Linked DNA regions of Homo sapiens: all the other regions are linked to region 3. The links are contacts of gene promoters, found by promoter capture Hi-C in blood cells and fetal thymus (Javierre and others, 2016). All regions are on one chromosome and are shown on one strand. The core of a region is centred on a gene start or on the middle of the fragment in contact, and the rest is flanking DNA. Distances in the headings are between cores, read along the strand shown. Region 1 has its middle 39 kb from the start of FOXN3-AS2. Region 2 overlaps EFCAB11 (EF-hand calcium binding domain 11). Region 3 holds the start of GALC (galactosylceramidase). Region 4 holds the start of LOC107984635 (a long non-coding RNA gene). Region 5 overlaps FOXN3 (forkhead box N3). Region 6 overlaps TDP1 (tyrosyl-DNA phosphodiesterase 1).

Region 1 (4,926 bases), core at 2,291-4,790, 1.6 Mb after region 3:
ATTTATTAAGTAGTCCTTATAGAGTCACTGTTTTATTTTAAAAGCTGCAAAAGTATTCAGTTTGCTGAATTAGGAAATTTCAGAGTGCAACAAGAGCTCTTAAACTGGCTGGGTGTGGTGGCTCACACCTGTAATCCCAGCACTTTGGGAGGCTGAGGTAGGAGGATTGCTTGAGCTCAGGAGTTTGAGACCAGCCTGGGGAGCACAGGGAGACCCCATCTCTACAAAAATAAAAAATTAGCAGGGCATAGTGGTACACACCTGTGGTCCCAGCCACTCGGGAGGTTGAGGTGGAAAGACTGCTTGAGCCCAAGAGTTCGAGGCTGCATTGAGCCCAAGAGTTCGAGGCTGCAGTGAGCCCTGACTGTGCCACTGCACTCCAGCCTGGGTGACAGAGTGACAGAGTGAGACCCTGCTTAAAAAAAAAAAAGTCCGGACACGGTGGCTCACGCTTGTGCTCCCAGCACTTTGGGAGGCCGAGGTGGGCAGATCATGAGGTCAGCAGTTTCAGACGAGCCTGGCCAGCATGGTGAAACCCCATCTCTACTAAAAATACAAAATTAGCCAGGCGTGGTGGCACGCACCTGTAATCCCAGCTACTCAGGAGGCTGAGGCAGGAGAATTGCTTGAACCCAGGAGGCGGAGGTTGCAGTCAGCCGAGATCGCGCCATTGCAGTCCTGCCTGGGCGACAGAGCAAGACTCTGTCTCAAAAAAAAAAAAAAAAAAAAAAAAACTCTTACATTATCTAAAATCTAAACTTGTATAATATACTAAAATCCCTCTCCAAGTGGGACCTGCTACTCTCTGAACCTTAAGAAAGTGGCATCTGCAAAGGCACTGCGAAGGTACTAGGCACACATTTGGAGAAGCCACCTGTTAGCAACTTCAGCAAGGTCCTGGTAACTGGCATGTATCCTTCAGTTCAAAAAGAAAGTCCCCCAAACCATGGGAGCTTAATGCTCACTCCCAAAGAAGCACTGCTCCATTATCATGAGTACACCCTGGGACGGTTCTGTTGGTTACACACTCATTCTTCTTTGAAATGCAGGTGGGAGGAGGAAGGAGATAGCTTTAAACAGCCTCAACATGAAAAGCGTCAGTCAACACAATTCAATAGTTAACCACCATCATTTCGATCATTTCATCGTTACCACAGCCAACTATTTGGTCCTTATGCTAGTTTCATCTTTGTAAAGGAAATATTTCATATGTAATTTTTTTTTCCCAGCACAAATTGTTGGAAGATCTTTGGCTTCCTGGAAAACTTATTATTTTAATTGTCATCTCTAACCCCATGCAGGTAGTAGAAACATGGCAAGCACAATGAAAGTAACAGGAGAATGTACAGAGGGGTCTGTCCTTTCTACTTCTATAGACTCCTCAACTGAACTCCCTCTGAGAAACAATGCAGGGAGGTTGGCTGTGGCCATGAGCAGCACAGTTCTACTGCGGTTTGCCTGAATGAAGAGTCTCCTGATTTCTCATCTCCATACCAGGCAGAGGTGAATCTAGTGATTGTGAAAATCAAGAGTGGAACTGAAGGGGATTCCTCTGCCTGCCACCCCTAGAAATCCTCAATACTGACAGCTTCTGGGATGTAAGGGGGAAAACTGAGCCCGATCTCAATACTGCCATTTCAGAACAATCTCATCATTGAGGAGATAATGTGAATATATTTGATGATATGCAAATATCATCTGTGTGTTATCATTTTACTCAACACTCAAAACACTACTGAGTCTGCCAAGCAGATTTATATAGCTTGGCAAATTTTCATTTCATGAATGACACTTCATATGAAATTATTTTCACTGACTAATAGAATAACAGTGATAGAACAGATCTTGAGGTGGAAATAGAATAAAGCCATGCATTTCCAGCAAAATTATAACCAACTAATCTCAAACACCTCCATATGATGTTCCTATAATTTATAAATAAAAGGGGCCCTGGTTTATAAGTAACCCCTAAAAATATGCCTTCCCTCTCATTATAGACTGGGCCAGGGCTCTTTCATGCTTGTGGTCAGTCATCTTTTTCTGTATGTACGTAGGCTTCCTAGGGTACACTGTATTACGTCACTAATTGCCACCTTTTTCCTGCTCACTATGAGCACAAGCAGCCTCTTAAATTGTCAAGGCAAAAGTTCTCTCTTTCGCTAAGAGGTTCCAGGGCTCTGCAAGCAATTCCCCAAGGTCTTCTCTAGAGAACATTTTAGAAGCAGTGATTTGCAAACTGTGTACACAGTGGTACTGGGTTCCAGAGTGTGCCCTGGGCACAGCCCAGGTGACAATAGCAGGCTCTGGGCTCCTAGTTCCCTCAGAGCAGCTCTGTTTTTATTTGACTCATATATTAGGGTCTTGCATAAGATTCTATTTGTTGCTAAGTAGAAAACAAAAATGATGTCTATGAAAATGTGTGCAAACCATTGCAAGAAATGGTTCCGTCTCCCTCAGGCACTCTTAACCTCCCTCACCAGGCTGCTCTCTGCAAATGGAGGCGGATGCATTTATTTTCCTTTAAAGAAGCTTACCCTTTTCTCCTCTTCCCGAATTTGAAACATCTAGGAATTGAAGCAATTAAATATACTCATTTTCAACATTCAGAAACTAATCCAGACTTCTGCACAGCAAATCCTTTCAAAGTTAAAATTTGTTTTTCTCATGTGTACTATAAACTGGATTTAGCCAACCCATCCCCAATTTCGATTTTTTTTTTTTTTTTTTTTTTGCTATCAGCAAGGTTGGCATATACCTAACGTGTATTCTTTATGGACCTTTTGTTATAAGCAATGAGAAGAATGAAGCTGCCTCTTTCTCTTTACCTCTCTACACTAATCCAAAATCGACACTGGCATTTGGTTGGTATTCTGGAATAATTATTAGAAATTTGGCATAGCCATCCAAAAACAGCAGCTTCAGTGAGTGTGTGAGTAACTAGCTGACAACTGAAAATGAATTGGAATTGTATTGAACATCTTGTTCATTTGTATTAGGAAAATAAGTTGCACATGGTTGTACCACGATCAATTTTCCTAATTCCAAAATCAGAAAGAAATAAACCTAAATGCCACAGGTTTGCAGAGAATGAATTGTACCACTCCAAAGCCCCTTTCGAAACGAAGTGTTCTGAGCCAACTATTTGCAAGACAATAGAGAATGAAGGTAGATTCTAGAAACCAACAAATCCCATTCATTTCCTTCAGTTTGTAAAAACAAGCAACTGACATGTTTCCTGCCAATGAACACACTTGCAGATAAGAAAGCTCCCTACAGGAAATCCTTGCTAAAAGAGACCAGTTGTCCCATTAAACTTAATCTTCTTTACCAAGTCCTAATCAGTTAAATATCTGGGTGATTTAGCATATATTTCATAATCCCATGTTGTCAAATATTTAACTTCTACAGTATATATTTCTACGACATACATGCAGAATATTAAACATTAAAATAGAGTTAGGACTCTCCTCCTCCCCACTCCCCATGCAATTAGTTGATGAAAATAAGGGAAATTTGCTGCTTTTTAAAAAGACCAAATTGTTAATTGAACAAGTTTTAAAACTGACCATTATCAATTAAGATAAAGCTATTCAATGCTTCAAATTGCCATGACTTAAAGGAAGACGTTTCTAAATGAATATCAAGAACATAAAATCTGAAGACTGCCATTAACAAGATTAGAAAAATATAAGAAATGTATTTGCTTTATATTTTACAAGGTTCGATGTTGATCCTCAAAGTCAAAATTTAGTACAGGGCCTCTGGTTATTTTTTGCTTAGCAAAATGAACGGGGTTGGGGGTGGAGGCTAGGGGGAGGGGAGGTCTCCAAACTTTTTTCTTTATAGTCCTCATGGAAATCATTACCAAGATACTGGAAATATTTGCAATTTTGATACTGGGAACGTCTCAATTATCCTAAAAACAAAAGCACTCTTCCCCATCCACAAAAGAGGAAACTTTTCTATTTAAGTCAACTGGGTAATAATAATGGGATTTTTGAAACAGTTCTTATTTTCATTTAGATTTTCCTTTCCCTGGTTAGCCTCTGAGAACACCCTCTCTTATATTTCCCAAAGTACCAGGCAATCTTCATCCCTCCCTTTCACTCCCCAACCCCACCCCCACCACCCCACACACAAACGCAGCCTTCAAAATGCCACCAGTCTGTAAGTTCCATTGCTTGAGTTCAACTTTGAACCCTCTTGTAAACACAAACACCTCATTATAACTTCCCCCGATGAATCCTCATCCACAGGTAACATTCTAACCTTTCTGGCTCTCAAAAGAGTTTTGTTCTAACTGTAGACATACAAGTCAGTTTGATCCCACAATTAAGTGTTCAAATACATTGTTCTTAGCCTTCCCTTGCACAGCTCAGAGGTAGCAAAATGCAAAGTAAGCCTGGGGGCTCATCCTTAGTTTAAGGCTCTTTCCTCAAATATTTCCAACAAAAATACAGTTATGAAATCTAGGAGACCACATTTTTGGTTGTTGTTGTAAAATGACCTTGATTTGACAGGCGCGATCTCAGGTTTCAACAGATGCTGTGGGAAAGCTTACAGAAGCCAACAAGTTCTCCAGGCATCTGTGATGACATGCAGGTTTTGTTTTTGTTTTTGTTTTTGTTTCTTTTTAAGTGGTGGTCATGGTAGAGTATGTATGTGTAGTGGGGGTGGGGTGGGGTTACTCCTCTCGGTTTCCATAACAACCATGTCTCCACTCATCGGTTATTAGATACAATCCACTTCCTGTGTCTAAATTTTTAAGCCAATCAGAAAAGTGTTTATACATTTAACAACTTCTGGGACAGTGCTTCTTTAATGAAATCGCTTTAAAGGCTCAAATGAAGATGTTCATGGGCTTTACAGTTTGTCTTACAGATATAACATTTCACAGTGTTTACTAATTCATATTCTTATATGGTG
Region 2 (4,583 bases), core at 829-3,328, 1.9 Mb after region 3:
CTGGCCAACATGTACATATTTTTTAGTTTCCAAACTACTTAATACATGTATATATATCTATGACAGATATATATATAGAGAGAGAGAGACTAGAAAGATTATTTTTTTTTACTTGTTTGTTTTTAAGCAGTTTCTTAGGAGGGTAATCATCTTTCACCACAGGGGAAGATAAATTCAAAAAGTCTAACAAAACTATATAAATTTTTTACTTGAAAGTTCCATTAAGTATAGTTTTTTGTGGTTCACAGTTCTAAGCTTCAGGGTCAGTGCACACAGAGAAATCCTCTTGAAAATGAAGGAGTCTAGCATCTGGCTATCACAGTGAGCTCAACTTAGAAACTGCAATAAACCTGGGGAGAGTGAAGGAGAAAACAATAAAAATCGCAAGTTATTTGGACAGTAAGCCTGGTCCTAGATTTAGTAGAAAGGAAGGGTTCATGTTCATTGTGTCACATATTGATTTTTCCAGGAGTTAAAAAAATGCTTAAAAATTAGGGTTTAAAAGGATGAAGCAGTCTTTCAAAAGACATAATGCCTTCTCTAGTCTGAGACACAAAATTCAAATTATGACTTTTGGAGGCCATGACAGTGAAGGGGTGGGAGAAGGATATAATGTGTTCGCACAGAAAGACTGCAAGGATGGTAGGTGAAAGTGACTTCAAAAATAGTGAGTTGTCACCTATGATAAATGAATTCAGAGGATAATATTTTCTTCCAGCTTACTATGGATGTGTAGGGAAATAAAGAGAAAATAATCTACCTTAATGGAAGAAATCAAGTTTTACTATATAATTGGAGGGAAAATGAGTAAAAACAGTTAGAGGCCAGGTGTGATGGCTCACATCTGTAATCCCAGCACTTTGGGAGGCCACGGCAGGCAGATCACCTGAGGTCAGGAGTTAAAGACCAGCCTGGCCAACATGGTAAAACCTTGTCTCTACTAAAAACACAAAAACTAGCCAGGTGAGGTGGTGCCGCACCTGTAATCCCAGCTACTCAGGAGGCTGAGGCAGAAGAATCACATGTTCACCTCCAGGCTTGAACCCGGGAGGCAGAGGTTGCAGTGAGCCAAGACCGCGCCACTGCACTCCAGCCTGGGCAACAAGAGCAAAACTCCATTTCAAAAAACAAAACAACAACAACAACAACAAAGCAAAAAAAAAAAAAAAAACCAGTTACAGTAGAATAGAGAAATCTGAACCAATAAAATCTTATTTCTATCAAACCCAGGCAGGAATTGTTACTTTTTTATTATACACATCTCCTGCTCATAAAGCTTAAAAGGTTCCTCAGTGTCAAACACCACAAAGTCCTAATACCTTATTCTGGACTTTAAAGCTTCATCCTTCCTTCCGTGCACACCGGTCCTTAATCCTTCCCAGCTCTCATCATGCCAGCTGACTCGGCTGGACACAATTCATTTATAGTTACATACTATATTCCTTGCTGTTGCAGAGGTTAAAAAAAAAAAGTAAAAATCCAAGAAGAGTAGATTCTGTTAATGGGAGGACTGCATTAACAGCATGATAGCTGATATATTTAGGTATGCAAATCTGAGATGGGCGAGAGATTTGTAAAAGAACAGGGATCTAGGAAGAAAAGATTTCAGGCACTGACGTGGACAGCACAGAAGAGGGTCTCTGAAGAACTCTACACAGAGAGCACAGCACCAGCAACAGGAGCAGGAGGCGGGGCACACAGCTGGCACCTGCCCTGCATTCATTTACCGCCTCTTTTCTCCTTTGCTCCATCACTATTTCAAATCCCACCCATCCTTCAGCATGTCCAGCTCCAGGCCCACACCTCCTCTAGGGGGCAGTGCTGCCCTCCTGAACTCTTATAGGTTTTCTTGCCTATAATAGTAATATAACATCTGGCCGTAAAAGAAGTGGCAATATTTCTTTCATCTTCCCTATCACATAAGATATATACACATTTTTTGATGGAGTCTTGCTCTATCGCCCAGGCTGGAGTGCAGTGGCGGGATCTCAGCTCACTGCAACCTCCGCTTCCCAGGTTCAAGCAATTCTCCTGCCTCAGCCTCTGGAGTAGCTGCAATTACAGGCACCCACCACCACGCCCAGCTAATTTTTGTATTTTTAATAGAGACAGTGTTTCACCATGTTGGCCAGGCTGGTCTTGAACTCCTGACCTCGTGATCCACCTTCCTCGGCCTCCCAAAGTGCTGGGATTACAGGCGTGAGCCACCGTGCCCAGCCCACATAAAATATATATTTTTAAATGTCTTTAGGTCAGTGTCTGTGTCTCCTAATTCTTCCCCATCTGTATAGTGAAACATATTCACTGTTTTCTAAATGGGTAATTAAATAAACATGGATGGGTGAATATCTGTAGGAGATTCCATAAAATGCTACGATTATAATTTCAAAATAAGGTAACCTTAATGTGTATGCAGTTTCCTGATTATAGAAAAGAACTAAGAAGCCAATTGAAATCTGAAATCAACCAAAACCTTCATCCCTGCTATACCCTGATCTTTGTTCCATAGGAGCCAAAATAAAAAACCATACACAACAGCAGGTGTTTTATGACAGAAACTAAGACCAGAAAAAGGATATTTAAATTTAGAAAAATAATACCTTTAATAGTCAACTGTCTTGTTTAGAACAAGCCAGACAAGATATTAATAAATAAAAGCATGCAAGCCAACTGACCATTAACCTACTCATCCACAAATTATTTTTCAATTGGACCTTACACTGGATAGCAGTCACACAGTCCATAATTACTGCTATGATGAATCAATCGCTTTGATTTTTCCATCATTCAAAGTTGAGGGTTAAAAGTAAGTTCCTGGAAAGCTTTTTCAAGTATCAAAGTAGAATATGTTCATTAATTTAAAATGGCAATAGTATAAGGAAACAGAAAAGATGCTCAATCTAATCGCCTAGTGAAAACAAAATTCTGAAGTCCTTTTTTCTGGTTTTTAATCTTAGGCATATTTTACATAGATCCGAGATAATAACAAAGAGACAAATGTATGAGGATTCAGTGGGACAATGCTCATTCAGTTCTTATTTATAGCTTTTAGCATAAAGAAAAGCCCTGTAAATCTTAGCTGTTGTTATTTATATAGAATGATCTACAATTTATTCTGGAATAAAGTCAGACCACCTGAGATATGTATACTTGGAACACACAGCCTTTGCCCTTCATAGAATTGCCCTGACATTAAACACTGGTCTACATTGAGAAAAGATGAAGCAACAGCCTTACAAAATTCACTACTGCATTTATTGAACAGCTCATCGACACTGACATCCACTCAGCAGCCTCCCCTCCATGAGACATCACAGAAGAACTATCCCAGGGCAGGAGGACTTATGCCTCTCTAGAAAAATTGTTTTGTTGCATGGACCCTGACTGCAGCTGTGCTTGCTCGTGTTTTCCTATTTGTTCTGGATGCTAGGTAGTCCAGAACCAAATTTGAAATTAATGCCTAACAACTATAGAGAACATGGTGATTTGTTTTTCGTGTATTGATTCTACTCCTGACTTCAACTCATTGATTCATAAAGTTCCTTAGGGGAATGAATACTGGCCTCGATTTTGTCACAATTAGGAGTATGACCCATGGCACTATTAAAAATCAAAGGAAGGGCTCATCAATTGGTTAAGAGGGTGAGCTAGAAGGTCGGATCACGTTGGTCTGGTACTTACTAGCTACCGGTGCCACTCTGGGCAAATTATTTAATCTTGCTAGGCTTCTGGATTTATTTATTTTTTATTTTTAAACTTTTTAGTACTTTTTTTTTTTTTCAGAGATATGGTCTTGCTCTGTTGCCCAGGCTGGTCTCAAACTCCTGGACTCAAGTGATCTTCCCACCTCAGCCTCCCAAGTAGCTGGGAATATAGGTGCATACCGCCATGAATGGCCAGAGTTTTTTAACTTCTAAAATGGGGATAGCCAGGCACAGTGGCTCATGCCTGTAATCCCAGCACTTTGGGAGGCTAAGGTGGGAGGATCACTTGAGCCCAGGAGTTAGAGACCCTGTCTCAAAAATAATCATCTAAAATGATAAATAAAATATAATGAGGATAATATGGTTTGGCTCTGTGTCCTTACCCTACCCAAATCTCATCTCGAATTGTAATCCCTGTCAGGGCAGGGGCCTGGTGGGAGGTGACTGAATCATGAGGGCTGACTTCCCCCTTGTTGTTCTCACCAGATCTGGTTGTTTGAAAGAGTGTGTCAATTCCCCGTTCACTCTCTCTCTCTCCTGCCACCATGGGAAGAAGGTCTTTGCTTCACCTTTGCCTTCTGCCATGATTCTAAGTTTCCTGAGGCCTCCCCAGTCATGCTTCCTGTTAAGTCTGTGGAACTGTGAGTCAATTAAACCTCTTTATAAATTACTCAGTCTCAGGTAGTTCTTTATAGCAGTGTGAAAATGGACTAATACAGAGGATAATCATAATATCATAGTTACATTAAATATAACAATCATCACAGATGAATGTGCTCATCACAGATCTGCATGATAACTGTTCAGGAAATGATTGCTGCAATTATCTATAATAATAATAAATACTGTAAAAGGATTTTGCCAAGTATTTATTATTTT
Region 3 (4,275 bases), core at 69-2,568:
CACAAGTAAAGCTATAAAAAAGATGGGGCCTCACTCCATGAAATATTGGCTGTTTCAGGTTTAGCCCAAAAACATAAAAAGGAGAATAGTAGTAGCAAAGAATAAATGCATTAACTCATCGGCCCACAGGTTTCCCCTGAAATACACATCAGCACGGCTGGAGAGATTGCAAATTAGGGAATGAAAACATAAAAATCAAAAAGGATCAGCTAACTCCAGGGGGAAAAAAATTTCCCCTAGCAGAAGGTTATATCTTGTGGTCACACTACAGACCAGGTCATCCTTGCAGCAGGCATTCAAGCTTGTTCTGAGTTGAATGTAAGGATGCAAGCTCCATCCAACTCAACCCCAAAAATCCGAGTTCAACCTTAACATTTTCAAGAAACATTAGCCCTAGATGTAATTTCGGATACAAAACCAAAAAACAAAAACCTTCTCACCCAAAGGTCGGCCACCATGAAGCCCATGGGCCCAGAGGGAGTACCCGGTAGTTTCAGGCCGCTCGCTTATCTTCCTTTTAAAGAGACCTTGAGGCACCAGTCCTGCCTCCAAACGAAATCCTATTCGGCGCTACCCTCTCTGGAGGAGCCCATTCTTACCCTGCACTAACAACTGCACGGGACTTAACGACTCCACCACCCACCAACTCCTCCAAAAGGGAGAGACACAGCCAAAGCATCCCACTGGGGCGTTCTCTTTCGCACACGGACGCTCCCGCACTCCCTGGCCCTTTCTGGAGCGACGCTCCCCGACTGCCATCTCCGCGATGAAGACAGCCTGTGCCCCACTGCCTGGGACGAGGGTTCCAGCCCCGGCTACTTCACTACTTAGACCTGTCACTTTACTCTCTGCACCTATACTCTCTGGACCTCCGGATCCTCATTTGTTCAAACCTAACTGCCTGTCTGGTTCGTGTTAAACGAGAAAGCACCCGCCCCAGCCCCGCAGCGGGCCCGCCCCAACCGCCTGCTGACTGGCACCCTAGGGGAATGCGGCGGAGAGTGGAGCCGGTGGAAACGCAGGGCAACGCCGCGGGGGCTTGTGGGGCTGGCCCCACGGGGCGGGCTCTTGCCGCCCCCCGCGTATCCCCGCAGCTTGCCGCTCACCCCGCCGCCGCTGACCGCGCCGATGCCGTCGAACTCCCGGCCCAGCCCGTCGGAGTCGTCGAGCACGTACGCGCCGCCGGGCGCCAGCAGCGCACACAGCAGCAAGGGCACCGCGGCGCGGCCCGCCGAACCCGCGGCCGCAGTCATAGCTTTCGCTCGGCGTTGCCAGGAAGCCGAGAGTAGCCACTCAGCCATTGTGTGGGTCACATGACTCCGGCGCCCAGGGAGGCGGGTCCCGTCGCCGCCACGATAGATACGGGCAGGAGGCCGCTGATGCTGACGCCGCCGCCGCCATTTTGAGTGCGGGTCAAGGGCCTCTGACGCAGCTGGCGGAGTGTTGAGAAAAGAAGCAGCGAGCTTTTTCTTATCGCTCGCGTGTCTGTGGTCAGCTACTGGATTTCACATGTACTTACTGCTGGCTTCTCTTCCGGCGTCACCTGGTGGAGCACTTTAACGCAGGGAAGGTGGATTCCAAGGTCCGCCAAAGGAAGAGGGCCATGAGTGGCCCTACCATGGCTCTTCCCCAGCATCTCAGGGAGTATCTACCTCGTGCGAGGACCAGGCTTGGACACCAGGTCCCGATTCCATTGTCATCTTGGTGGAATCACTTTGCTTTTGGAGCCTGAGTTTTCCCTTATGTGAGATGAGGCGAGAAGAGCAGCAGAGTGAGGGACTGAGAGAAAAGTTAATAAGCACTCAGTACATTTGAATGCATTCCACAAGTGGCAAATAGCTGAGAAGGTTCTCCAGTCTGGTAACTACCCCGGCATATTCAAAGCTTTTAGCCTTGAAGGAGTTAATAATATACCACCTCAAAATATGCTGCTGTGGCATATTGACTATTTTAAATTAAAGGCACTTAAAAACAGCAGGTGCAAGATCACTGTCATGGATATTATGTGTCTTAAAAGGAGGAGATGAAATTCCCATGTGAAAGATGTCTTCCCTATAAAATAACATTGTTATCTTCAAGGACAGAAAGTTGAAGTCGAGGGAAATCTGTCCAAACAAAATTTGTTAATCCCTATCTTTCTAGTCGCTTCTTTACCCCAAGCCCCTTCGCCTTATCATGTTTCACAACTACTATTTTTTGTCCATTTCACTCTATAAGCAATTGGCTCTTAACTGCTGCTTTAGGTCTTTTTTTTTTTTAATGAGGGCCCCCGTGCTATGTAAAATAAACATTTGTGTGGTTGTCTCCTGTCAGTCTATTAATATCTTAAATCAATTTAATACTAGGGCCATGCTGGGACCCTACAGGGACGAAGGTGAAATTTTGCCTCCCCTACAATTTTATAAACTATCTTCCACTGTCAGTTGAAGTGATTCCAGACAGGTAACTCTAAATTGGTAGGAAAGTTGTGAATTGCCCTGAATTTCTGCCACATCCAGCACTGTCCTGAGATTTCTGATTTCCTTGTTATTGAAGTAAATTAAAGAGACTCTGAAGAGCTGCAGAGAAAGATTTTCTGATCCCCAAATTTCTCTTAGCAGAAGTATGGAACTGGTTATCATTGCCTACACAAGCCCCTGAGATACCACAATGGCAAGGAAAAGACCCAGAGACTTTAGGACCTGTGGGATTTGTCTGCAGAACCCTATTTGGAATCTGATTATTTTGCCCCTTAACCACAAACCTAAATCTAAGTTTCAAGAACTCAATTATACTTGAAGGTCAAAGCTCTGGGCAATCCAATAAATATGCACATTAAGAACCCGATATCCCTGGGTTCTTAATGTACATTAGATATGTTTGTTCTTTCTTTCTTTTTGAATTGACTCTACGTCTATCCTGGTTTACTAAGGACAGTCACAACTTTTGTCTAAACATAATTACTGATAATGCTCCTTTCACCCTCAGTAGTCTTCTGGCTTGGATCAGTTAAATAGTCCCCTGTGTATGAACCACTTATTTTCTTTGGTTTCTTCTTTCCCCAGTACAACACGAATCTGAACTCTCTGCCTTGCCACTGCAACCAGTTTATGATGCAAGTCAGTAATTTTCAGTTCTGTGGATTTACTGTTACAGAATTCACTCTGATCCATTTGTTCTAACACAGTATTTTAAGCATGAGCTGGAGCTCCTGTGGATACAAGCCACAGTAACCATTCCATCAAGTGAATGTTAAGCTTCTCTTACCAGCTCTTAACAAGCGCATAAGACCCACTTAATACCGTGACTAGATGGGAAATACCAAGGTGATGACAGAGGAAACTACCTTACACATAAAACTAGGAAGTTGCATGACGATGTATGAATACCCAGCATACACCATCCTGTAGTACGTCATTGTGAAACGGGTCAGTGGTCAGTGGTCTCGTTGTCTGAGGTGTTATCCAAGCTTGTTGTCTCACAACCAAGAGAATTAAGGAGTGTGGACACCAGAGTGAGGTTGAAGAGAAAGTTTATTATATGAAAGAAGAAAGCTTTCTTTCTTTGCCATTTTGCCACTTTTACAGTTGAATCCAAAAGCTTTTATAAGAAACTCCTCTCATCTCTGTAGCTGTTTGTGTAACTTACTTGTAAAGCTATCTGTGCAGCTCCCCTTATCTGTGCAGCTGTGGGTATGTCTTGGGTAAGGATAAAGTTCAGCTTCTCTTGTTTGTGTAACTGTGGGTTCTAGGTAATCACCCTCTCCACCCCCATGCAAGTTCCCACAGAGCCCACCATGTATGTGCCTGAAAAGGGGAAGAAACTTTTTCCTGGGAACCTGCTAATCACACAAAGAACAAAAGGCTTCTATGTTGGGCCTTCCTTTCTTATCAGGGCAGCTGTTGCCTGAGTTTTCCCCAGGCCACTCTATGTGTGCCTGTAGCTTGATTTTTCAGGCTGTCTTTCTGTTTAAAAGAATTTTACCAAAGACCAACTTTAGCTGTCTGCCCAACTAAGTTTTCCCTTTTCTCGTCCCTCAATTGCACCTTGTAGTTGGAATGCACGCCACAAATATTTGAGCAATGTGTGAAGTCTACAAAAGAGGAAGCATAAACTCTAATGGAAAAGGTAGCCTCACTTCCAGGAAGTCCCAGTAGTTCCTATTAGTTCAGTTACCAAAGAAATTGCTTACCAGATAAATATTTTTTGTTTCTAATTTCTGATCTATATTCATGAGAGCAGACATGAGGTAAGAAAGTTTCTAATAAAAGGCCAATAAATACATGCTGACAGAAA
Region 4 (4,375 bases), core at 1,154-3,653, 1.4 Mb after region 3:
CACTTTGTTCACCCTCAGCTGGGAACGTGCACACTGAATGACTCATTTGTACGTGTCCATGAGTGACCACAAAAGCACCAGGAGTACTGATTTTTTTTTTTTTTTTTTTTTTTTTTGAGACAGGGTCTTGCTCTTGTCACCCAGGGTGGAGCGCAGTGGCATGACCTCAGCTCATTGCAATCTCTGCCTCCCAGGTTCAAGTGATTATCCCTGCCTCAGCCTCCTGAGTAGCTGGGATTACAGGCGCCCACCATCACGCCCAGCTAATTTTTTGTATTTTTAGTAGAGACAGGGTTTCACCATGTTGGCCAGGCTGGTCTAGAACTCCTGACCTCAGGTGACCCACCCGCCTCGGCCTCCCAAAGTGCTGGGAAGGCCTGAGCCACCATGCCCGGGCAGGAGTACTGATTTTGAGATTACAGGTAAATTTTAGCAAGAGGGTGAATTCGCAAATACAAAAACTACCAATGATGAGGACTGACTGCATTTAACAAACACCGAAATAGCACTTAACTGGATGCCAGACAGTGTTCTAAAGCTCCGAAAATATTCACTCATTTCAGCCTCACATTAATCATGTGAAGTAGGTACTATTATTATCCCCATTTTATCAACTGAGATTCTGAGGCACAGAGAGGTTTGGCCACTTGCTCATAACACACAGCCGGTAAATGATGGGGCTGGGAATTGAACCCACACAGTGAGTTTGGGAAAGCTTCAGAACACCTGGCTTCTTAGAGAACCTCTCAGGGGCCTAGGACATGAAGGACAGGACCCGTGGGGTACAAGGGAGACAAAATTGTGACCGAGAAATAGAAGAGGAGGGCCGGGCGCGGTGGCTCACGCCTGGAATCCCAGCACTTTGAGAAACCGAGGCGGGTGGATCACTTGAGGTCAGGAGTTCGAGACCAGCCTGGCCAACATGGTGAAACTCTGTTACTAAAAATACAAAAATTAGCCGGGCGCAGTGGTGGGTTTCTGTACTCCCAGTTACTTGGGAGGCTGAGGCAGGAGAAATGCTCGAACCAGGGAGGTGGAGGTTGCAGTGAGCTGATATCGTGCCACTGCACTCCAGCCTGGTCGACAGAGTGAGCCTCTGTCTCAAAAAAAAAAAAAGAAAAGAGAAGAAAAAGAAAAAGAAGAAAAAAAGCACAAGAGGAGGAAGGAAAAGGGGACTTTTTTTTTTTTTTTTTTTTTTGAGATGGAGTCTTGCTCTGTTGCCCAGACTAGAGTGCAGTGGTGCGATCTTGGCTCACTGCAACCTCCGCCTCCTGGGTTCAAGCGATTCTCCTGCCTCAGCATCCCAAGTAGGTGGGATTACAGGCCTCCACCACTGCGCCCGGCTGATTTTTTTTTTTTTTTTTTGTATTCTTAGTAGAGATGGGGTTTCACCATCTTGGCCAGGCTGGTCTCCAGCTCCTAGACCTCGTGATCCACCTGCCTCGGCCTTCCAAAGTGCTGGGATTACAGGAGTGAGCCACCGTGCCCGGCCAGGACTTTTTAACTGAATGAAAAGGCACTACTTGCAAAAACTCAAAGTTCAACTTCTATGTCATAATCAACAAAGTATGGTGTATCTTTGTAATAAAAAAATAAATCAACTAGATACTGAACGTCACCAACAGAGTGTAAGTGCCTTGAGGGGCAAGGGACTCTGTTTTCTCTTCTGCTCATAGCACATGGCACAGTGGTAATAAAAAATATTGATCACTTAACAGGAAAAAAAAAAAGTCTCCTTTTTATCCCTCTCTCAAGCTGGCATCTATTAACTCTACAGATCAGTCAGAGAAAAGTAGCCTCATCAACATTTTCCTCCTCCAAAGTTTTTAAGAGATTTTATTGTTTTCCTCTCTTTAGTGAGTACACCAAGTACCATAGTCTCATGGGTTTCGGTGGCTAAGTCTGCCAAAGTCTTATCCACGCCAAGAAATAACTTCTCTCGTTTTACTTTTTCAGAGGGGTGTGAAAGAAAACAATTGATTCTTCTCTCTACGAGAGTCTTTTTAAAACAAAGTAAGAGCTCTGAATTTGATGAACTCTCTGAGAAACAGAATATAGATTAAATGATTACTAACATATTTCCCTGCAGCACAAAGTTCTTTTTTGGAGATTAGCAATTTATTCCATTTATTACAACAGCCAAACCTGAAGTCTCTTTTCATTGGCTAGTCAAGTTCACCAACCCTTTCTGTTTTGAAATCCTCACTCCTTCCCAAAATAGTGTATCTTGTGCCTTTAATATTGAGGTTGAGGTGCAGGCAAAAGGTGTCCAGAAATTGTGAGACGTGACTGCATGTGAGTACTCAATCTTAAAAGGGTCGGGGCTGGAAAGGAAGCAAGCAGGTGAATTGCTAGCTCTTTCTGTGGGTATGTTCAACAGCACCTCACTTCTCTGCACTCAAAGACGTGATTCTGACTGGTTTCAAAGATTTGGCCCCCAAACAACCAGGCGTCCTTTTTAAGTTGGCATTGCTTCCAGAGAGGAATCCTGAACATGTTTCCTCTATGCCTCACACAGCGCCAGGCCAGCTGTCTAACAATATGGGTCCCGGAGGGGGTGCTGCCCACGTTGGTGACGGCAGCCATGAGTGCCTGTTGCTCGCAGCAGACGTCAGAGAGACCTCAGCGCAGGGGTCCAAGCACCTGGCCAAGGCACCCTGCGCAGGCCTCCACGCCCCACGAGTGCCTGCAGAGGCTACCTGAGGACCAAGGTGGGCATGCCACGGTGTCCTGGACTTCTGGATGGAGGCCAGTCCCAGGGAGTGAATGGCAGAGCTCTCCGGAGGCTGCCCAGGCCAGGTTCAATGGGAGGGATGAACTTCATGACATCCGTTCCAAAGAAATCCCACCTGCTACTGGCATGCCTAGGCTTGTCTTCCCCACATACCAGCCTCCCAGGCATGTCTCCAAGGGCTCAGTGAGGAGGCAGCTGCAACAGTTCGCTTTCTCTTAATGATTTGGAGTTGGGAGGCACAGAGATGGGGAAGAGGTAATGACCATTCCCAGTGATCCTGGACCTCCGTGTTGGCTGCGACCTTGAAAAGTCATGCTGTCAACCCCTTTGTAGAAAAAATGCAGTTTTCTTTGTCCGTGGAAATCTGGCCTCGCAGATTTATTTGCTGTAGCAAGTTTCTTTACCCTCATCACACTGATACTCAGAATTGAAACAGTTCAAACCTACCCTGAAACATCCTTCTCCCTCCAAATTCCAGTGACATCCTCGGTCTAAAACGCCTGGCACCATGTGGGAGCCTGGCTCCGCTGCCTCTCAACGCACTGGCTTGCTTTTTGCTTTTGAGTAGCTTGAATATCAAACCAAGCACAAAGGGAATCATACCCAGGAGTTGCTGGAAAAAGCTCATTTCATCCACCTCATTCCCCCATTCTCTCTGGCAGACACAACTGATTTTTTTTTTTTTGAAGCCTGAAAAACTTCTCATTTAAACTTGGGGTGCAAAAGGCATGTGAAGTGGGAGAGTTGCTGCCTGGACCAGCGAAGGGTTAGCCAGGGAAGGATTCAACGAAATACAAAAGCCAACACAGACCTGAAGGGGAACAGGCGGCCCCAGCAACAACTGCCAAACTGTCATTTTGCTCCGCGGCTGAACAGAAGGCTCGAGTAATGACAACCACAAAACTCATTTAAAGTCTGAAAAGGTGACTAATGAGCTCATTCATGCTGGCTATAAATTATTCACTACAACACTGATCCCACTCAAGACAAACAGTAAAGTAAACTTTAAACACAGACATCGCTGGCCTTCCAAAGTGGAACAAGTTATGCCTGTAAAAGTTTTCACAATGAGAGAGATACTTGTCTCCCCCTTGTCTATTGTCACATTCGTTCTTCTGTTTACTTTTTTTTACTGCCTTTAATCAAGTTTAAGCAGACACAGCTGTTACACATTTATTTCTCTGAGTTTTTTTCCATTAGTTATTACAAGCAATCATGATGCTCTAAAAATAGCAGCAAATTATATTCTCTAGAAATTGAAGGCTGACCTTAAAATGAAGCCCAGGTCTTCAGAAAGAATATTCATATGCACATGTTGGATAAATGACAACAATGCACAAAGGCAAAATAAAAGTACAAAGCTTTTTCCACTCTTTGAGAGGTTTTTGATTTGCTTCCAAATTTCCTTTGGTTCTGGTGGAAACAGGTTGCTTCAAAACCTTACCATACAGAACCTGCTTCCAGTGGTCATGATTCCAGTTTGAAGGATTTTCCTTCAAACTTACAATCTTAAGGCAATCAAAGAAGAAATGTTTCATTTAGGCTTTTTCAGCACAGATAAACACAGCAGCAGGTTGCTGAAAACCCACCACATTGCTGCAGACTACTTTCGGTTTCCTGTTTAATATTAAATAAAGAATT
Region 5 (4,279 bases), core at 1,721-4,220, 1.3 Mb after region 3:
ACCTCAAAGGTACCCTGTCTACTCACTCCTTTCCCGGTGACCTCTGGCCACCTCCCTCACCACCTGTACCAACCTTTTCCTTGCTTGTGACTCTCTGCTGTTCGCAAACTGTCCCACGTGTCCCTCTCTCAGTCCCTCCCCACATAGTGTAGCTCAGGAAAACCCAAAACGAAATGGTTGGGAAGGCCAAGTGCGTTGGTTTTCTTCCACCATCACATGGGCTGGAGCCGAAGAAACTGATTCTTACACACCTAGTACCTAATACCCATTCGATGCTTCGAGAAAAACTATAGAAACATCTATTCCTCTCCTGGAAGTGAACTGAGGCAAATAATGTTGCTGAACTTCCATGATAGCATTAAATTCGAAGAGAACATAGTTTCAAAAGAGTAATGTCACTTCTTGGCCATAGTTATGTAACTATGAGGGTGTGTCCATCAAGCTTTACAAAATGTGGTAGCACACCATGCCTTCTCAGCACCTTTCTTTCTGGGTGTAAACAGTTACGTATGATTGTGAGGGTTTTGCTTTGTTTTACTTTGTTTTGTTCTGTGCTTCCCTCTTCTTTGAATTCCTATGGCGAATAAAGAGGACCACACAATTGAAGCTTTAAACATAACCCGAAAAACCTTAGCCTCCTGAAACCTTTGGAGGAAACTGACTCACACACATGGGCTGTGCTTCTTGGTGCTGGGTCATTGGGCTCACCTTTGCAAGTCCCCTGAGCACACACAGGCCACACACCGCTGCCAAGGCTCGTGCCTTCCTCTTCAATGCTACCTGGCCTGAAAGCTCCTGAAGGATGTGACTTATCCTCCAAAGCCACTTGCAGAGCCCAGTACCAATCGGGTCTGAGAAGGTATGCTACTTCTCTCCCTTTCATCTGCCCTTCTCTGTCCACCTCCACCCTCTTCAAAGGCTGCCCACCTCCGCCCTCTTCAAAGGCATTGTTCAAAGGAGTCACAGGCCACCAAGTTTTAGTACTGTGCTACAGCTTAGCCTTTCCAGGGAGGACACTTTATGTGTAGGGCATTCTTTGCCTGCACTAAACTGCTACCACTTCATATACACAGATTCAGGGACTTTTGCTAGCAATGACTCCACTTTAATTTGTGTATAATCCAGTCAATCGTGTGCTCAAAATGACTCCTGGCTCCCTGTGACCTGTGCCACTTCCAGGTTCTTTAGCACTAAACAATTGGCTCCACTTGCTCCAGCTTCTCCTGCCACCCCTTGTCTTTTAGTTTTTTTCGCTCTGACAATACCAAGTTGCTCATGGTCCCTTGGAGACACCAGAGCGCCTTTGACCTCTGTCATTGCTACTCAGTTGCCCCTGCTTGGAATGTCCCTCACTCCCTTGTTTTCTTTGCAAACTTTTATGCTGTCTTGAAAATACTGCTCCTCCTGTCTTCTTCCTGCCTCCCTCCATGCTGAGAGCAGATCCTATCTGTCTTATGCTGTCTCCTTTCCATGAAACACAGGGTATTATAAGTTAGTTATTTATGGAGCTAGACTGTGAGCTCTCTGAAGACACTGACGATCTGATTCAGCTCATGTCCCCAGGAGCTGGCATGGAGTAGGTGTTCAATAAACATCTGCTAAAAAAAAAAAACAAAAAAAAAACTAGCCCTATAAAGTATATAGGGCTGGTATTATGATCCTCATTTTGCAGCTAAGAACACTTAATTCAGAAAGGAAAAGTCACTTAATGAGGGTCGCATGGCTAGTAAGTGACTCATGCTCTCTTCATTGCCATGATGCTTACATAACTACCTCCCGTTTCCTGCTGTCTCTTGAGTTTGGTGATCTACAGAAAAGAAAAGGAAAACTGAAGAAACAATACAAACACTTCAAAAGTTTAATGGATGTTTCTGAGCATCTATACATCGCCTTCTTCTCAGAACAGACATTGAGGACAGTCCTATAATTCACTATTATCAGTGTATCTACTTTAACTTGGAGCCCAGGCAACCAAGCACTAAATTAACACTGCCCTGTCTCTGCAAAGGTGATGGGGGACAAGACGCCTTGTAACTTTGAAGAAGAGATTTACACACCCCTGTGTCTCCCATATAAATGGACTCAAGAGCTGCAGCAGTCCATAAATGATCCTTTCTTTCCACTGTTGATAGTTGAAGGCAGCCGTTTCCAGCTTCTTGCCGGTGATCACTCTGCTAAAAATAGCTTTGATGCTGTCACATGCAAACTTGAACAGAACCTGAAAGCAGTTCCCCTTTTAGTTCTGAGCTGGTTCAACTTTAAAAGAGAGGCAGCTGTGAACACACTCCAGCGTGTTTACATGATGCTGAAGTAGTTCAGCTCGTAGTAAAAATACCACTGAAAAGGGACAGGCTTGGGTTTGCAGCCTCTGCTGACGACATTTCTTCCTGCTGAGCTGGAGCCCGGGAAGGGGCGGGAAGGGGCGGTAAGGTTAGCAGGGAAAATCCAAAATGTCCAGTTTGAAGGGGAAAGTGGCTGTGAGCAGAACCGCGGTGAAGACAGGAGAGAGATGTTTGTTGAGATGTGAGATTTCTGACTATGGTGGAGGTGGGGGCAGGAGAGGCGGCAAAGATCATATAGAAAAGAGAACTTAGACAACAGGGGGTGCTTTTTAAAAATTCTGTTAAAAATATCTAAGGGCTGTTTTTTTAGAAATCAAGGAAACAAAGGATGAAATACATTCAACATCTTGGCCATTCATTTGATACCTTATGTTGGTTTGCTGGGCAAATGGATGATTCTGGATGTGTTCTGAAAACTGGGCCCAAAACTAAGGATAAAGCAGAGTATGGGCTTGGAAACCAGAGAAAACCTGGGCATTCAACCCGGCTGCTCCTCGTCTGGCCCCCATAAAACTTGGCTTAAGCACTGGTGTCTCCCAGACCTTCTGCACAGAGCTGGGAGTTAAGTGAGAAAATACACACCGAAGTGCCTGGTGGAGCGGGGGACCCTGACCCATAATAGACAACGTCCTTTAAAAACATATACCCAGAGGAGAGGAAGCTGACAGTGATCTGCGGACAAATCTGGAATACAGTGTAGTTTCTTAAAAAAAAAAAAAAAAAAAGTACCAACCAAATAAATAGTGTTTTTTCTTCCTTCTTAATTCTATGTGGCCAAAGCATGACTCACACTATATTTGCTTATGAAATGAGAATTCATTTTACGAAGTTGTCCTAGAAAACTTACGCTGAGCCCGGCTGATCTGGAGGGGACGAGAGGAAGGCCTGGCCAGCACCAGGACGGATCACACAGGCCGGGTGCTGGTGTCTGTACCCACTGAGGGCCACTAGGAGATGGGAACTGAGGTCATCGATGGTGAACTCGCGGCTCCTGCTTAAGAACCAGAATCCTGACTTCAGACGTTTATGCTGGAGCTTCACATATGTTTCAGAACCCATCGTTCAACAAAAACCTCAGATTCATCTTAAGAGCCCTTGAGAAAAGGACGCCTCTATGACATCACTGTCCTACCCGATGAGTTTCAGTACCATGAGCAGATGACATGTGACCCAAGTACGAAGTGAGCAGGTTCTCTAAACAAGCTATAAATTTGAGCAGCACACTGAGGTTATATTAGCATAGGAATTTATCACGTAAGTTATATGTTTGAACAACAGAACAGACTTAACATACTGCTGTATCTTTAACTATCATTTTTTGTTAACAAGACAAAAGAATTTACAGTTTCTGCCAACTGTTTTGTTGGCCCCTAATACCACGATTAGCTGTTGCCAGGCAACCATGAAGCATGCTTCCTCCCAAATCAGGAAGACCCACTGCTAAATCTAGACTAATTATAAAAGGAGACAAATATTTAAAAGCCTTATATTTATGAAGGATTTGGGAGGTGCCCTGATAAGAATGATTCTTATTAAACGGATCTAACTAAATACAATGCATATGTCTGCAGTGCATTGTCACAGGTTTTGTAAAACAATTTAGGAAAACTGAATGTTTCTGCAACTTTCCTAATTTCCCTCAATAGGATACTAAACAAAACCAGGTGTTTATAATTTGTGGAAGCATGTCTTTTGCCTACTTCTCTAAGAATAAGGATGAAAAGAAGCAGCTGAGAGACCTAAGCCTTTTAAAATACATATATATTTGCAAAGAAATTATGAGAACACCACCACCATTTTCACAACCCTTACAGAGCTATGTGCATATAATGCTCAGCAGCTTTCCTCTCAAGTTTCTGCCTTTGTCTGCATTCTCAATTCCCTCTATTTCAAGAGTCATTTAGAATTCTCTGTGTGGAGAAGAGTTTTTCAGTCCC
Region 6 (4,503 bases), core at 52-2,551, 2.0 Mb after region 3:
CCTCTTGTCCTACTTTGTTGGAGGGAATTCCACTTCCATATGGTTTTAGAAAATGGAGATAATGATAAAACTTAAAAACCTTTGAAATTCTCTAAATAATTCACAGAGTTGCTAAGGATTTTACCTTAGCAACTCTTAGTACATAATAATGTACTTAGCACAGAATTCTCAGTGTTTGGAAATTCCATTTTATTTATATAATGCAGGCAACCATATTTGTTATGGTAGCCTCTTAAGATTCTGCAACTGCTTCTGAGAGTGGAAGCTGAATCCTTTCTCACCAAAAACTAAGACCTGCTACTTACTTTAGAATGGGCAAGGTATCTATAGAGAACAGCCTGAGGACTGTAATGGAAGATTCTATTACTCACCGCCTTGGTTTAGAACTGTTGTAGAATTCAAAGGAACCTAGAGCTGACATTCAGAGAGTGGTTTTTCCTAAGGTGGTTCTTTTGTTCCTAGATAACTTTAAAGTCACGAAACTGTAGCCACTGAAATAGTTTCTTCAAAGTGTATTGTAACAGCTTAAATACCCCTATCCAGCAACTTCTAGACTCTAGAACACTAGAGGAACCTAAGGTTTTGTGGGTTTTTTTTTCAAACCGGAAGGATTAAAAACATTTAAAAAACCACCTCTGAGCTGCTTAAGTAGGTGTTGAGTAGTAAATCAATCTGAATCTCTTTCATGGAGGAAACTGGGCACTCAGACCCCTTTAACCATGACAATACAGTTCTACAAACCCAGTTATCTAGTTTCTTAACCCTTAGCAGATTAGAAACAATTTAGGGAAAATATACCTATGCTATGAGTTTTAACAACCCCTTGAAGTGGGCTGGACAGAGTGTAGAAATAAATAGAAACTTTTAGAAAGCAGATATGAGGGCTCAAAAGAGCCAGACAGTCTAGGGTCACTATTACAGGAGCAAGTGGCCCCAGCCCTCTCTACAGTCAATAAGGCTTTGGCTGTGAGATAGTGTGTTCATGCTGGGTAGGGTAATAATGACCCAGAGCCATGAAGAATGGGCCAGATTATTGTCTTGATGCATTCTTGCATAAAAGTTCCTTGAAATGTGTAATTTACAGAAGGCTTGCTTAACTTGACTGGTAGTTAATTGAAAAAGGTGAAGAGAGAAATTGTGAAAAGGGATAGATACCTTTAAAGTATTTCCAACCCTCCCCTGCCCCGCCCTGCTGTGTTCACTGAAAAAATCATGAGATCTATACATTTAGAAAGGAGAGCTTAGTTCTTATAAAGGGCTACAGCCTGCAGTGTGGCCTGACAGGCTGGGAAGCACAGCCTCAGGCAGAGACCTTTAATGGCATCCCAGGGAGGAGAGGGTAGAACAGAGATTTATACTGAATGGGTTGGCCAAGTATAGTATTCAACAGGTGTGGGAGGAGCTATGAATATTCACCAAGGGGGGACACGTGTGCATGTGTAATGAGCAAACGTGTGTTTTGTGCATCTCGTGTTCACTTTGGGATGGAGACTTAACATTTGAATGAATTACAATTAGGCCCTCTGTCAAAAGGTGAAGGAGAGACATGAAGGCACTCAGTGCTCAGCCTCTGAGGACTGGTCAGAACCAGTCTGTGGTTTCTTTTCAGGAGAAAGTTACTCCATTGTCCAATGACAGCTGCAGTCATGGCCTGTGGAACCAGAGGGGTCAGTTAGTCAAGCATCTGGCAGTAGGTGAGCTGCAATTGTTTAGATATTCCTTATCTCTAGGCCAGTGCTTATTTAGCTGCTGAAGAAAAAAGAACCTTGTGGAAGGTAGAACATAGTTTAAAGGTAGCAGTGTGTGATTTAACCCTTGCTTGGCATGGCCTTAGGTCTTGTTTATGATTTAGTGTCATATTGTCACAGAATCTATTCTGCCAGTCTTACGATCTCTGGTCAGTTGTGTTTAAACCGCAGAAGGGAGGGGATATAACAGGCATGTCTGAGCTCCCATCTCATCATGGCCCGGAACTCAGTTTTTAAGGTTTCTCTGGGGTCCCCTTAGCCAAGATTTTTATTTTTAGTTCTCATCTAGAGACATATGCATATGTATTGATTTGCAAATCTTTTGATGTAGAATAATGTTGAATTCTCTTTTTTGGGGAATGTAGGTTTTGTGAAGGGAGTGTCACCATCTTGGTTTACTCCACTCAATGCATCTTTTCCAGCCTCATTAAAACAGCAGAAACTCGAAGATACTGTTGATCTGAGCACAGACTACTGAGTTTTGTAATTTTCCCCTGGGTCTTGTGCTAAAATGTTAAAAGTATCACATTGAGGAACTGTTCTTTAGCTGTCTGGAAAGTCTACTTAGATAGTCCTTTACCACTGAATTGACAAGATTTGGTAGGTAACAGCAAAAGTGACTGTTTCGTGTACTTTCCTGTTCTCAGAACAAGAAAGTAGAATTTGACTGTGGGGCTTAAAAAATAAAAGTGTGTTGCTTCAGTACAAGTTATTTCTGTGTAGGTGTTAGTAGATTTATGATGTAGCCAATAGGATAATTATATCTTGATATAATTATATCCAACTAATTATAATTAGTTGGGTCCTCATGGAAGTAGTGTAAATAATGTACATACCTAAGTGGTCATTTGGCTTTCCTCTTGAAGACTTTGTTAAGCTTTATGGTAAATGGGTTGTCTTTTGGGAAGTAAGACATACATAATCACTGAAGTCCTGTGGGTGCCTGTACTTGGGTGAAGGCTAGGTTTGTAAATTCCAATTTGACCTTAAGCATTTGAACATAGATTAAATGGACCTTAATCCCAAACGCTTATTGGAAGTTTCGGGGTCAAGAATGAATGTTTGTTTTATTTTGGCATTTGTCTTGATGCATTCTTCAACCCCCTTTCCTAGGACATCTAAGAACAAAGTTTAGATTGAAAGCCAAGGCCAGGCATGGTGGCTTATACTTGTAATCCCAGCACTTTGGAAGGCCAAGGTGGGTGGATCTCTTGAGTCCAGGAGTTCAAGGCCAGCCTGGGCAACAATAATGAAACCCTGTCTCTACCAAAAAAAAAGAAAAAAAAAATTAGCCAGACGTGATGGCGTGCACCTGTAGTTCCAGCTATTCGAGAGGATGAGGCAGGAGGATTGCTTGAGCCCAGGAGGCAGATGTTGCAGTCAGCTGAGATTGAACCACTGCACCACTCCAGCTGGGTGACAGAGCGAGACCCTGTTTCAAAAAAAAAAAGGAAGAAAAAAGAAAGGTGACCAGGACTTTTGCTTGTGATTTGGCAGAATCTGATAGTGGATTCTGGTAATGTGCTTATAAACACCCAAAAAGCAGCTGATGTTAGGTGGTTCAGCCTCTGGAAGGTGTCAGCTCATCTGACAGGGAAGTTGAGAGCAATAAAGTTATTTTGCCAATGCCCTGATGAATGGGAAATGCTGATGTTTCCACTTTTCATTTCCAGGAGTATAATGTCTCAGGAAGGCGATTATGGGAGGTGGACCATATCTAGTAGTGATGAAAGTGAGGAAGAAAAGCCAAAACCAGACAAGCCATCTACCTCTTCTCTTCTCTGTGCCAGGCAAGGAGCAGCAAATGAGCCCAGGTACACCTGTTCCGAGGCCCAGAAAGCTGCACACAAGAGGAAAATATCACCTGTGAAATTCAGCAATACAGATTCAGTTTTACCTCCCAAAAGGCAGAAAAGCGGTTCCCAGGAGGACCTCGGCTGGTGTCTGTCCAGCAGTGATGATGAGCTGCAACCAGAAATGCCGCAGAAGCAGGCTGAGAAAGTGGTGATCAAAAAGGAGAAAGACATCTCTGCTCCCAATGACGGCACTGCCCAAAGAACTGAAAATCATGGCGCTCCCGCCTGCCACAGGCTCAAAGAGGAGGAAGACGAGTATGAGACATCAGGGGAGGGCCAGGACATTTGGGACATGCTGGATAAAGGGAACCCCTTCCAGTTTTACCTCACTAGAGTCTCTGGAGTTAAGCCAAAGTATAACTCTGGAGCCCTCCACATCAAGGGTAAGAGGATGCTGGGTGTCAAGGAGCTGTTGAATTGCCCTTGAGAGTCTCTCCTCCGTGAAACAAGGAGGGCAGCCTAGAATAGTTTCTGAGAACTCTTCTTTGTGTTCTTAACTACTTTCAGGAAAAAAATTCTTGACAGGCAAGTGCATTAGTATAACAGCAGACTGTTTACTTAACTCAGGCAGAGCGTGTGTTCTCAAAACCCTGTAGCTCAACCCCTTATATCACTTAGCACGATGTTTAGCATTATTTAACTTTTTAAGATGAAGCTTGATGAGTAACAGTTTATCAACAAGGTAGCAAATACTTGACAACAGTAGTAGTTCTCCATGGGCCCTGGACCAGCAGCCTCAGCATCACCTGCAACTTGTTAAAATGCAAATTCTCGGGCCCCATTCCCGATTCATTAAATTGGACTCTGAGGGTGAGATCCTGCAGTCTGTGTTTTCACGAGCCCTTGAGGGGATTCTACTGCCCAGTCAAGTTTGAGAACCACTGCTTAAAAGCCTGGTT

What was found. Contacts are between HindIII fragments. The CHiCAGO score rates a contact against its expected background, and 5 or more counts as called.
Region 1: a contact is called between a fragment that was not itself captured here and the fragment with the promoter of GALC in region 3, in 1 of 17 cell types (fetal thymus). The highest score is 7.5, in fetal thymus.
Region 2: a fragment that was not itself captured here is called in contact with the fragment with the promoter of GALC in region 3 in 1 of 17 cell types (fetal thymus); the score reaches 7.1 in fetal thymus.
Region 4: a contact is called between a fragment that was not itself captured here and the fragment with the promoter of GALC in region 3, in 1 of 17 cell types (fetal thymus). The highest score is 5.7, in fetal thymus.
Region 5: a fragment that was not itself captured here is called in contact with the fragment with the promoter of GALC in region 3 in 1 of 17 cell types (total B cells); the score reaches 5.2 in total B cells.
Region 6: a contact is called between a fragment that was not itself captured here and the fragment with the promoter of GALC in region 3, in 7 of 17 cell types (total B cells, activated CD4 T cells, naive CD8 T cells and 4 more). The highest score is 11.4, in total B cells.

What each region holds. Positions count from the first base shown.
Region 1 is chr14:89,612,408-89,617,333 of GRCh38, forward strand. It overlaps a transcript of FOXN3 not described here. Among named protein-coding and RNA genes, the nearest start is that of FOXN3-AS2, 39 kb to the left of the region's middle. RefSeq lists enhancers at 2,137-2,226, 4,484-4,543. The HindIII fragment of the contact is 2,027 bases long and covers 2,528-4,554 here.
Region 2 is chr14:89,937,818-89,942,400 of GRCh38, forward strand. All of the region lies in intron 3 of EFCAB11 (EF-hand calcium binding domain 11), which reads right to left. Among named protein-coding and RNA genes, the nearest start is that of EFCAB11, 15 kb to the right of the region's middle. The HindIII fragment of the contact is 1,484 bases long and covers 1,337-2,820 here.
Region 3 is chr14:87,991,864-87,996,138 of GRCh38, forward strand. GALC (galactosylceramidase) reads right to left here and starts at 1,319. Exons shown (of 17, transcript NM_000153.4): 1 at 1,107-1,319. The coding sequence starts at 1,301. RefSeq lists a silencer at 987-1,176 and enhancers at 1,132-1,632, 1,327-1,656. The HindIII fragment of the contact is 1,583 bases long and covers 300-1,882 here.
Region 4 is chr14:89,426,126-89,430,500 of GRCh38, forward strand. It overlaps LOC107984635 (a long non-coding RNA gene), which reads left to right and starts at 2,229. Exons shown (of 2, transcript XR_001751025.2): 1 at 2,229-2,295; 2 at 3,213-4,375. It also overlaps a transcript of FOXN3 not described here. RefSeq lists an enhancer at 2,379-3,578. The HindIII fragment of the contact is 3,380 bases long and covers 714-4,093 here.
Region 5 is chr14:89,301,897-89,306,175 of GRCh38, forward strand. The region is part of intron 3 of FOXN3 (forkhead box N3); the gene reads right to left. Among named protein-coding and RNA genes, the nearest start is that of FOXN3-AS3, 46 kb to the right of the region's middle. RefSeq lists enhancers at 1,820-1,889, 1,920-1,979, 2,080-2,279, 3,193-3,462. The HindIII fragment of the contact is 4,731 bases long and covers 606-4,279 here.
Region 6 is chr14:89,959,687-89,964,189 of GRCh38, forward strand. TDP1 (tyrosyl-DNA phosphodiesterase 1) reads left to right here. Exons shown (of 17, transcript NM_018319.4): 3 at 3,422-3,987. The coding sequence starts at 3,429. Among named protein-coding and RNA genes, the nearest start is that of TDP1, 6.0 kb to the left of the region's middle. RefSeq lists an enhancer at 3,190-4,389. The HindIII fragment of the contact is 2,643 bases long and covers 1-2,623 here.